Linked DNA regions of Homo sapiens: regions 1 and 2 are each linked to region 3. Evidence: promoter capture Hi-C in 16 types of primary human blood cells and fetal thymus (Javierre and others, 2016). All regions are on one chromosome and are shown on one strand. Each heading gives the region's core, a stretch centred on a gene start or on the middle of the fragment in contact. The rest is flanking DNA. Distances are from core to core; before and after follow the strand shown. Region 1 overlaps MCM8 (minichromosome maintenance 8 homologous recombination repair factor). Region 2 overlaps MKKS (MKKS centrosomal shuttling protein). Region 3 holds the start of TMX4 (thioredoxin related transmembrane protein 4).

Evidence for each region. The method cuts DNA at HindIII sites, captures the fragments that hold promoters and counts their contacts. A CHiCAGO score of 5 or more calls a contact.
Region 1: a contact is called between a fragment that was not itself captured here and the fragment with the promoter of TMX4 in region 3, in 1 of 17 cell types (total B cells). The highest score is 6.5, in total B cells.
Region 2: a fragment that was not itself captured here is called in contact with the fragment with the promoter of TMX4 in region 3 in 1 of 17 cell types (total CD8 T cells); the score reaches 5.2 in total CD8 T cells.

What each region holds. Positions count from the first base shown.
Region 1 is chr20:5,952,135-5,955,408 of GRCh38, forward strand. It overlaps MCM8 (minichromosome maintenance 8 homologous recombination repair factor), which reads left to right. Exons shown (of 19, transcript NM_032485.6): 2 at 1-29; 3 at 290-394; 4 at 2,474-2,556; 5 at 2,968-3,117. Among named protein-coding and RNA genes, the nearest start is that of MCM8, 3.1 kb to the left of the region's middle. The HindIII fragment of the contact is 1,792 bases long and covers 377-2,168 here.
Region 2 is chr20:10,428,370-10,432,010 of GRCh38, forward strand. The region is part of intron 1 of MKKS (MKKS centrosomal shuttling protein); the gene reads right to left. The region is part of intron 1 of LOC128706665; the gene reads right to left. The region is part of intron 1 of LOC128706666; the gene reads right to left. Among named protein-coding and RNA genes, the nearest start is that of MKKS, 4.0 kb to the right of the region's middle. RefSeq lists an enhancer at 3,248-3,641. The HindIII fragment of the contact is 328 bases long and covers 2,020-2,347 here.
Region 3 is chr20:8,017,959-8,021,478 of GRCh38, forward strand. TMX4 (thioredoxin related transmembrane protein 4) reads right to left here and starts at 1,803. Exons shown (of 8, transcript NM_021156.4): 1 at 1,480-1,803. The coding sequence starts at 1,655. TMX4-AS1 (TMX4 antisense RNA 1) reads left to right here and starts at 1,948. Exons shown (of 7, transcript NR_184034.1): 1 at 1,948-2,146; 2 at 2,433-3,303. RefSeq lists silencers at 1,314-1,453, 1,564-1,803. The HindIII fragment of the contact is 3,626 bases long and covers 1-2,510 here.

The sequences.
Region 1 (3,274 bases), core at 23-2,522, 2.1 Mb before region 3:
GAGTAAAACCACAGGAAAACGTACTTCTGGTAGGTGAGGTCAATGATTGTTCAATTTTTTTCACTTAAGGAAGCAATTCACGTCTATCATACAAGGCGGTTTATCTCATACTTCAGTTTGTCTTTTATTTCATGCTACTCCTTAGTAAGTATTTGAACATTGATGTCCCAGATTTTTACTAAAACCCCTAATTTGGATACTCTATTAATGAGAGTCTCATTTGGAAAGAGAAGCATATTGGAAAAATGTTCACTCTGTTTCTACTAACCTAGTATTTTATTTTTTTCAGAACAAACCCCACAGTTTTTGCTTTCAACAAAGACCCCACAGTCAATGCAGTCAACATTGGATCGATTCATACCATATAAAGGCTGGAAGCTTTATTTCTCTGAAGGTAGGGTTTAAAAAGTACAAAAAAGCACCATAAATCATATTTTCTTAACTTGTCTTTGGATGCTACATCTTGTATTACTGTAATTCATTTACTAACATATACCTGCTTTAATCTTAGTTCACCCAAACAATTAAATGATGTTTATGTTTCAAAAGCATTTTAGACTTTATATCAGTCAGGAAAGCAGAAACCATACTAGGTATTTCAAAAAGGGGACTTAATACAAGAAATTGGATACAAAAATGGAAGACTGAAAGAGCAGAAAGGAAATATTGAGGTAACTCCCCAGAAAGTAGTAATTCAGGAAGCAGCAACCATCCTTATGGCTAAGAGACTAAAAGAAGTTCTGAGGTTACCAGAATGTGGGAATTCAAAGGTTGGAGAGGTCACAGCATAGCTGTTATTTTGACTTTTGAGGGGCACCCTACAAAGCTATGCTTGGACTTCTGAAGGCTACCTTACAGAGCTGTGCTTAGACCACTAAGGCAAATGAAGCTGGTTGCCACTGGTAACTGAGGGGGCATGACTCAGTGGTGCTTGGAACTGGAGGCTAGCACTATCGTTATCTTCTGCAGCTGCAGAGATGCTGAAAAGAGTTGGAAACAAGAATAAATTCCTTTCTCTTCCTGCCACCTTCCCGTCTCTAAAGTGCCTTCAATTGGCAGAATTTAAAGAGAATCTGAGACATGTAGGGTACAGATCTGAATTATAGCATCGCAGAGCAGGAAGTAGAACAGTGGGCCTGAAATCAAGGGACAATAACAAATACAGCTTTGTGTAGAAACACAGGTAAGGAATCTCCCTTTGATAATTAGGAATACCAATTAACCTACATCAGTCTGTATAGGTGCAGGGAACTGTCTTTTTTGTGCTGTTAAAATACCCATTTGTTTCTTATGTCTCATGAGGGGTGTGTGTGTGTGTGTGTGTGTGTGTGTGTGTGCATACTTTTTATTTTTTTTTGAGATGGAGTCTTGCTCTGTTGCCCAGGCTGAAGTGCAGTGGCGCGATCTTGGCTCACTGCAAGCTCTGCCTCCCAGGTTCACGCCATTCTCCTGCCTCAGCCTCCCGAGTAGCTGGGACTACAGGCACCCGCCACCACGCCCGGCTAATTTTTTCTGTTTTTAGTAGAGACGGGGTTTCACCGTGTTAGCTAGGATGGTCTTGATCTCCTGACCTCGTTATCCGCCCGCCTCGGCCTCCCAAAGTGCTAGGATTCCAGACGTGAGCCACCGCACCCAGCCGCATACTTTTTTTTTTTAGGAAAACTAGACGTTTGAGGTCCAGGACCCTCCCTGCCCCATACCAGGCATGCAGTAGTCATTTTGTGAATGAATAGAGTACTTTACAAATGTTTTCTTTATTGGAAATCTGTTCGTTTTTTTCCATCAATAGAATCTGTTTCATGAATGATCTTTTGTTCCTTTAGGATGTATTAGCCACCAGCACTCCCATTGCTCCCCTAGCAGATAGCTCAGAACACTATAAGTGATCTTTGGACAGTCCTAAAGATGGAGTTCAAGAGGTGCCTTAGCCTTCACCATCTGTGCTTCCAAACTACTTTATTGTACTGTTCTTCTGTGAGAGACATATTTGAAAATGTAGAACTTTAGAGTGTTAAAAAAAAAAAGGCTTTTCAGTTTTGCCACCAGGGTCAAGTGTTGGTCTGTCTCCTGATCTCAGGAAAGACTGTGATTGTGATTGTCTTCAGCTCTGTCAGAGTAAGAGCTTAGTTTATGTGTCTGGCTTTGGCTTTATTATAATTTTTAGTTTAAGCTTATTGTCTAAATTATCTGAACTAACATGTCCTATTAGGTGTCAAAGATGCAAAACAAAGTTTCCCAGATAGTGGGGCTTTTAGAGAGAGAGAGTTTCTGTCTGCATTTCACATTATGCAAACCTAAATTTGTTTTAGAATCTTAAGTTTACATTCTATACTAGTTCTTATATGAATGTAATCAAAATACAAAGCAATTAGAAAAAAATCATCTACCATGTATATAGTGCTGCTTTTGTCTCATGAAAAATGTGCATGTACCTGTGTGATTATTTGTGCTAATGCCATATTTGTTGGATTAGTTTACAGCGATAGCTCTCCTTTGATTGAGAAGATTCAAGCATTTGAAAAATTTTTCACAAGGCATATTGATTTGTATGACAAGGTAAGATTCCTCTACAGCAAAGCTACCAGTCATGTGCCATCTTACCAATGTATTCGAGGTACTTGTGATTATGATCGTAGGCACTGGAGTCAGACTTCCTTGGTTCAGACCTCAGTTCTGCCACTTACCTGCAGTATGGACTTTGATTAATTACTTCTCTGTGCCTCAGTTTTCTTTCATTTGGAGATAGAGGTATAAATACCTACCTCAAAGGATTGTTAAGAGGCAGTAATACATTAATATATTTAAAATATCAGAACCATGCTTGGCACAAAGCTTATACTTATGTCATACTTACCATTATCACATATAAACATTGTATGCTTTCTCAAAGTCTATAATAGAATGCTCAGTTAATGGTAATTGACTACAGAAAAGCAATTATTGTTTTCATACTTTTATATTTTATAGGATGAAATAGAAAGAAAGGGAAGTATTTTGGTAGATTTTAAAGAACTGACAGAAGGTGGTGAAGTAACTAACTTGATACCAGATATAGCAACTGAACTAAGAGATGCACCTGAGAAAACCTTGGCTTGCATGGGTTTGGCAATACATCAGGTAACTATTTGTCTTATGCATACTTTTGTCTAAACTTTTTTAATGTTTGCACACACATGCACACCTTGTCTAAGTTTAAAGGAAGATTTTACAGTGACTGTACTTTCTATAAGAGATACTTAGCTTTTACGAAAAGATGTTGGCTAGAACTGAGAGG
Region 2 (3,641 bases), core at 934-3,433, 2.4 Mb after region 3:
TGGTATGTTCTGAATCCCTAAAGAGCCCATTTCTACCCTTCATCATTTTCAAGATTTTAATTGTATGCTCCACCTTCATTTCTGCAGATAACCTATTGGCCAGAGGACATTATAGCTCTTTAGGTATGAACACCTCTAACTTGTTGTCCCCTTATGTGCACCTTAGCTCTCAACTAAATCTTCTTTCAGCTGGGCGCGGTGGCTCACGCCTCTAATTCCAGCACTCGGGGAGGCTGAGGAAGGTGGATCACTTGAGGTCAGGATTTTGAGACCAGTTTGGCCAAGATGGTGAAACCCCATTTCTACCAAAAATATGAAAAATTAGCTGGATGTGGTGGGTGCACCTGTAATCCCAGTTACCTGGGAGGCTGAAACAGGAGAATCGCTTGAATCCAGGAGGCAGAGGTTACATTACAGTGAGTCGAGATCGCGCCATTGCACTCCAGCCTAGGTGACAGAGCAAGACTCCGTCTCAATAAATAAATAAATAAATAAAACTCCTTGCCTGCTGTCAGAAGAACTGGTATTCCTATTACCTGTGTTCCAGTCCCACTTTCTACTGTGTCTTTGGGGTTCTAACTTCATTATCCCCTCTCATCTACCTCCAACCTTCCACTCTTAAGGGCCTTTCTCTTTTGCATAACTATGACTATTTTTCTCCACTGAAAAGAGTCAAAAACAAATTCCCTAAGGCAACTGCCCTTTACCATCTTCCTTCCCAGTACTACACAATCTCTTTCCTTTCAAATAATGCATCTTTTCCTAGTCACTTCCCATTCCATCTTCAAACCCAAGCAATCTGCTTTTGTTTCATTCTCCATGGAAAGTGTTCTGACCATAAAGATCACCAATCCTTCCCCTTACATAATCTCCCTGTAGCCTTTTGATGTGTTCTTGAGACTCCTAAGTACTCAGGACTCTATACTGTTCCTTCTTAGTCTCCTTTAATAGCCTGCTGGTTTCCATCCACCTATTCATCCTTATCAAAGATCTGTCTTTGGTAGTGTTTGTTTCCTGGGCGGTCTCATTCAATCCCCAAACTTCTATGATCATGCATCCACTCTGGCTCTCACACGTTCATCTCCAGCTTAGACCCACATAATAAACTGCTACTGTACACCTTTGAACTAACCGTCCCCACAAATAGTCTCAATTCATCTCATATAAAAATAAGTCCTCTTTCCCTCCCAAACTGCTGTTCCACCTGGATTTCCTGTTTCGTTAACAAAAAGCATCATCTACTAAGCCATTCAATTCAGAAATCTGGATATACTGGACTCTGCCCTTTTCCTCATGCTCCTCATCAACTCACTCAGCACATCCTGCCATTTGACATAAGTGTTTCTTTACATAATCCCTCCTCCCTAGGGTCACAGTCCAGACCCTCGCGCCCTCACATGACCTCCTTGCTTCAATTCCAGTAGTTCTCAAACTGTGGTCCTCTCAACAGTGCCATTAGCAACACTTGGGAATTTACTAGAAATGCAAATTATCAAGCTGCCCCTCCTGACCTACTGAGTCAGAAACTCTAGGGTGGGGTCCAGTAATCTGTGTTTTAATTAATTCTTTAGGTAATTCTGAAGCTAAAGTTTGAGACCCACTGTTCTAGTCTACATCCACTAATCCATTCTCTACACTTTTAATATAGCCATCTTGCAAAACAAAAAACAAAAAAACAAAAACAAAAACAAATCTGGTTGTATTCCTGCTTTGCTTAAAAGCCTTTAGTGACATTTTTGACTAGAGTGAAATCTAAATTTCTTAGTACAGCAGAAAGAAAAATCCACTAGGATCTAGATCCTGCCTACCAGTTTTCAGAAAGTCAAGCACTTTAAATCATTTTTGTAAGAATGCATTGTCATGTAGTGATTAAGGGATGAGCTGTGGACTCATACCACCTGGCTTTGAATCTTCACTTACCACTTTACAACTGGCTGTGTGGCCTTGGATTAGTCACTTAATCTCATTGTGCTTCAGTTCCATTGTGTGTACAATGTGAATAATAACATCCATATCATAAGCTTGCTGTGCAGTTATCACAATACTTGGCACTTTGTCTGGGCTCAGTAATTGTTAGCTATTATTATTTTGATTATGTCAAAAAGAAAAAAAACATTACTGGAATTAACCTGTAGTATAGCAAGAACTGGAGAGGATTAGAATTAATGCCCAAACTAAGGGAAGTGGTCCCCATAAAGGAAGGCCCACTTCTCTGGGCAGTTTCAGTTAGTTAGCTAAGAATAAAAATACCCAGTCTCAACAGAGAGGTTCAGAGGTCTTTGGGGTTTGACTAGGGTAGTGAATCTGGTAATTAGATTCTAGGATATTATAGGACAGATAACTGTCAAGCTTCTAAAGTGAGAGCCAGGAAAGCTGTGAAGGAAGTCAGAAAACTGATACAGAGCAAAGAAGCAAAGACGGTGAAAAATTTCATGTATGTTTCTCTAATAACAGTTAATAGAGCAGCCAAGTGATCAAATGTGAGAATCCTACAATGACTGAAACTTGGTCGACATTTTCAGACACGCTGTTGGTCTGAAACAACGTTTTACATAAGAGCAAAAGCATTGAGTAATGGCGAGAATCAAAGTCTAACCTCCACCACAAATTAGTTATGGTCTTGGACAAATTACTTCTCTCCTGCCTCAATGTCATGATCTGAAATAGGGGGCCACATTATGAAGAGAACTATATACATTCATAGCTTAGTACAGTGCCTAGCATGTGGGAAGTGCTCAATACACGGCAGCCATTACTTTTATTGGGAGTATATTATCTTATACGAATCATATATAAAAATAGGCACCCCTGGAGGTTCCTGCTTGATCAAAGCAATTATATATTATCATCGAATATTTTGACTAAAATTGGGTTCCAACTTATAAGGTGAGGAAATACTGTAAAGACAAATCCAAACACAGTCATGTATCCCACATTCACAATATTTAGGGATTAGCAATTTTCACTTCAAATATGTACAAGATTAATTCTATCCAAATGCTCACTTAGTGTCTATTAGGTGCTAGCAAGACTACTAGCCTCAGGGGGGAACTACCAAGAAGAGTAAGGCATGATTCTTGTCCTCAAGGAGAATACAGGTTTGAGAAGATAATGGGACAATCTTAATAAAACATAACTCAATGCTGTATAGGGTCAAAAAACCAAACCAAACCAAACCAAACCAAACCAAACCAAACCAAACCCGCACAAAAAACTGCATAAAGTCTTTACCAAGTTGACTCATTTTTCAAAATCATAGTTCTCATTTTTTCCTCTATCCTCCTCTGAATTAGTCTCAATCCATTTTTACTTACTCCATCTTTAGTTACGGCAGGGAGTCAAGATCTAGAAAAACTAGTCACTGCCACCCACGATAACAGAAGGTAGCAGCCACTTGTCTTCTCTGCTATATTCCTAGTGCGTAGCAGAAAAGTAGAGAATCTTGTCCCCTTTGGTCCACAGAGGATGGCTTATTCTTCTGCTTCAGCTCTTAGTTCAGATGTCACCTACTCAGAGAGCCTTTCTCTCAGCACTCAACCTAAAGTGTTTTCCCTCTCCCTCCCCATTATTCTCTAGCACGTGATTCCTTCAAAGCCCTACCTTTGTGATGAATGCTGTGATGTGCCACCCTGACCCCCCTA
Region 3 (3,520 bases), core at 553-3,052:
CCCCTTCTTTGTGACTAAGAGGTAAATGCACATTTGAAGGGGTGATATGCCTTATGTTCTTCGAGCAATGTAATCTGCTGTGTGACATAAATTTTGGCTCTGATCTCACACTGAGGTTTTCACTCCATAGGCACCTGCTTGCAATTTAAATTGAAAGAATCAAAACTTGGTCTTGGATAAAGGAAAGATCCAATTTTCTGTCTGTGTCCTCAACGTAAAACAAAGATTCAATAGTAGTATACAGATTGCCAGAAACCACAGGCTAAAGAGATGTGGCAATTTCCTGAAAGATTTTATGTTTGGGGGGTGGGGGCGGGAGGGGGGCAGGTAGGGTGGAAAGGAGTTGTGGGAGGGGAGAGAGAGACAGAGAGAGAGAGAGAGAGAGAGGAGGGAGAGAGAGAGAGAGAGAGGAGAGAGAGGAGAGAGAGAGAGAGGGAGGGAGGGAGGGAGAGAGAGAGAGAGAGAAGAGAGAGAGGAGAGAGAGAGAGAGGGGGAGGGAGGGAGGGAGGGAGGGAGGGAGGGGGAGAGAGAGAGAGAGAGAGAGAGAGAGAGAGAGAGAGAGAGAGAGAGTCTGCAAGCCCACCATGATGGTCTCTCAAGCCCGCTCAGACATCTGCCCACCATCCACTGCAAGCCTCTTTCAAATGGTCACTTCCTATTATAAGGTTAAACTATAATCAACAAATCCCTTTCTTTCTCCTAACTCAAAACTGTAGTTTCCCATCTCCTTAAAGAAAAGGCACTATCCACCATTTGCTTTCTATTGTTAAAAGGGGCAATGCGTATCTTCTTTTCTTTATGGCACAATTATTAATATTACTCAGAAAGTCCTACCTTTACAAGTTATAATAAGTATCAACATTTATTTGAAATCATACTGTAAAATTTAAAAGGCATCCATATTTATGTTTTATTCTCACAATGACATCTCCAGGTCTTCAAACGGAAGACTACGACACAAATGGCCTGCCTTCACCGTGCTGCAATTTCTTCAACAGGTAACTTGCTTAGCCTGTGCTACGTATTCATACTGCACGTGGATGTCACTGAATGTCCTTTCTCTTCCAATACATATCTGTATCTAAAAGCACACGGTTTGCTTGCAGATTTTCTTCCTTCCCTTCTCCTCCCTATGGGAAGCTGCCCACTCCACCCCGAAAACACTGTCCCCCAAAGCAAGGGGACGCGCTGCACCCTCGGCTGTCACCGCGAGGGCTCGGCGCGCATGCGCGGCGCGAGCGGCCGGGCCCCACAGCCGCAGGTCGTTGGTAAGGCGGGTCCGCGGACCCCAGGTCGAGCCCAGCGGCAGTGCAGGATCGCAAGCGGCCCGGCACCGGCGCCGCAGGTTGTTGGCAAGCCTGGTCCGGGGTTTTAGGTTGAGCCCAAGCGGCAATGCGGGATCGCCACCGGGCCGCGCGGGCTTGGGAGGGTGACGCCCGCGAGGACACTGCGGCGTCCGGGGCGGGCGGGCACACTCACAATTTCAGCATCCACTCGCCCTCCATCACCAGCGTCCAGTTGGAGGCGGTCATGGGCTGGACCCGGCTCTGCTCCGGCGGCAGCGCGGCCTCCTCGGGGCCTGCCGTCGCCGCCACAGCCGCGATCCAGGCGGCCAGGAGCGCCGTTAGCTGCGGGCCGCAGCGCCCACCCGCCATGTTGGGCGCCGAGCGAGGCTTCTCGGCGGGGAGTGTGGGGAAGGGCAGCGGCCGGCCCGCAGCCTCGCTCGCCCGCCGGGTTTTTCAAGGAAGCGGGAGACGCAAGGGCCACCCCGCCTACGCCTAGCGGCGCAGACTGGCGGTGCTCGCAATGCCGCGGAGGACGCCACCTCTTATCGCCGCTTGCCCGTCGAGGCCACGCCCCCTCCCGCCTCCACTTGCCGTTGCCCGGGGTGTCGGTTACCTCAGCAACCACCGCCCTTTCTTCCTGACCGCCAAGCTGACAATAAACAGATGACCCAACGTTGCCTAAGTTAGAACATGCACCGCTGCTGCCCAGGCTCCAATAAGGGCAGGGTTGGCGCGTGTGGGCTTCTCTAAAGGGAAACATGGCCAGTAATTTTAAAATCCATCCCCTCTTCAATGATAGCAAATATAAAAGCAACGGGCTGCAAGGTACACGTATGTTTAATGAAAAATGGAGGGACGTGGTGAGTATCTCCTGCTGAAGAGAGAGGAAAATTTAAGTACTCTGCATGTGTATATTGAAGCATCACTAATTTAGGATATTGATGAAACTAGCCTATGCAATTGCATTTTTTTTACAAAAAATGTTAATTTCATAGAAACTCTTAAAAACATGGGTACTAGCCGATAAAATGAGTCAATTAAGACTATTGCCACCTGCAGTAAAATGGACCTCACATTTCTCTTGACTACAGTTTTGTCAGATCTAAAATGAGGGTAGCCTTAAGTGATTTCCAAATTTCTTTCCAGGTCACATTAGATGAATCTGTACCTTGGGACCACCACACCGTTAATATATAAGACTGGATTACAATTAAAGGATGAGGAAGCTTTCTCAAAGGGTGCTTTGTATGTGTTTACTAGTTGTGCAAACCATGAACCTCGGTAATGTGGTTAATAGACCATGAAAAGGATGTGGTTTCTGCCCTCGGCTTAAAACAAAGACAGCAATAAGACTAAAAGTACTTCAGGGCACATGAGAGCAAATTTCAATCAATACTTATAGGAGAGGGAAGTTAATTTTGCCTGAAGAGAAGATCTGGCCTGCATTATGCATTAATTAGTATTAGCTAAAAACTATGTGGACCTAGCCCTTATCATTAAAATAAAACACTCAAGGGTTTACAAACTATTGAAATTTAAGAAAATGTCTTTGCAATGAATGCTACTAAGACTCACTGTTATTAAGTACATACATATCAATTCCATAAACTCAATGGAAAACATTTTACTGTGCTTGTAAAAAGAAGTGACTCATAAACAGGAATTCTGTCATTTTATCACTTTCATGATAGAATGATGTGTAGAATTTGTTTTACAATGCTCCAGAAATAAAATGTAGGGAATGGAAAGAAGATAGGTGAAAGAAAAGTGGTGCAACATCAGTCAGTGTTGAAGCTAAGTTCATTTTGCTACTTTACCTACTCATGCATATGTTGGAAAATTTACAAAATGAAAAGCTAAAAGGAGAGAGAGCATCTTCAGCATGAAAGACAGCCATTACCAAAGCATTTCCTATCTTTAACAAAAACTGAAGTCTTAGCCTTCAGACTAAGGATGGTAGGAAGAAAGTAGCAAGGAAGTATGGGACTGACCTTGCCGTAAGGAGTCACAGACCAGGGTAAGGGACCTGTTGCTGTCAGACCATGATTGGCATCTTAGCCCTGACACTTCCTAGCCATGTGATTTGGGGCTAAAACTAGTCCACACCAAAGTTCTCTTAAAATGCGGGTAGTAATAGAACCTGCTCCAAAAGGTGGCTGTGAAGATTATATGAGATAAGAATAATGCCTAGCACATATTCTAACTCAAAAAGCTTACATATTAGGTTGGTGCAA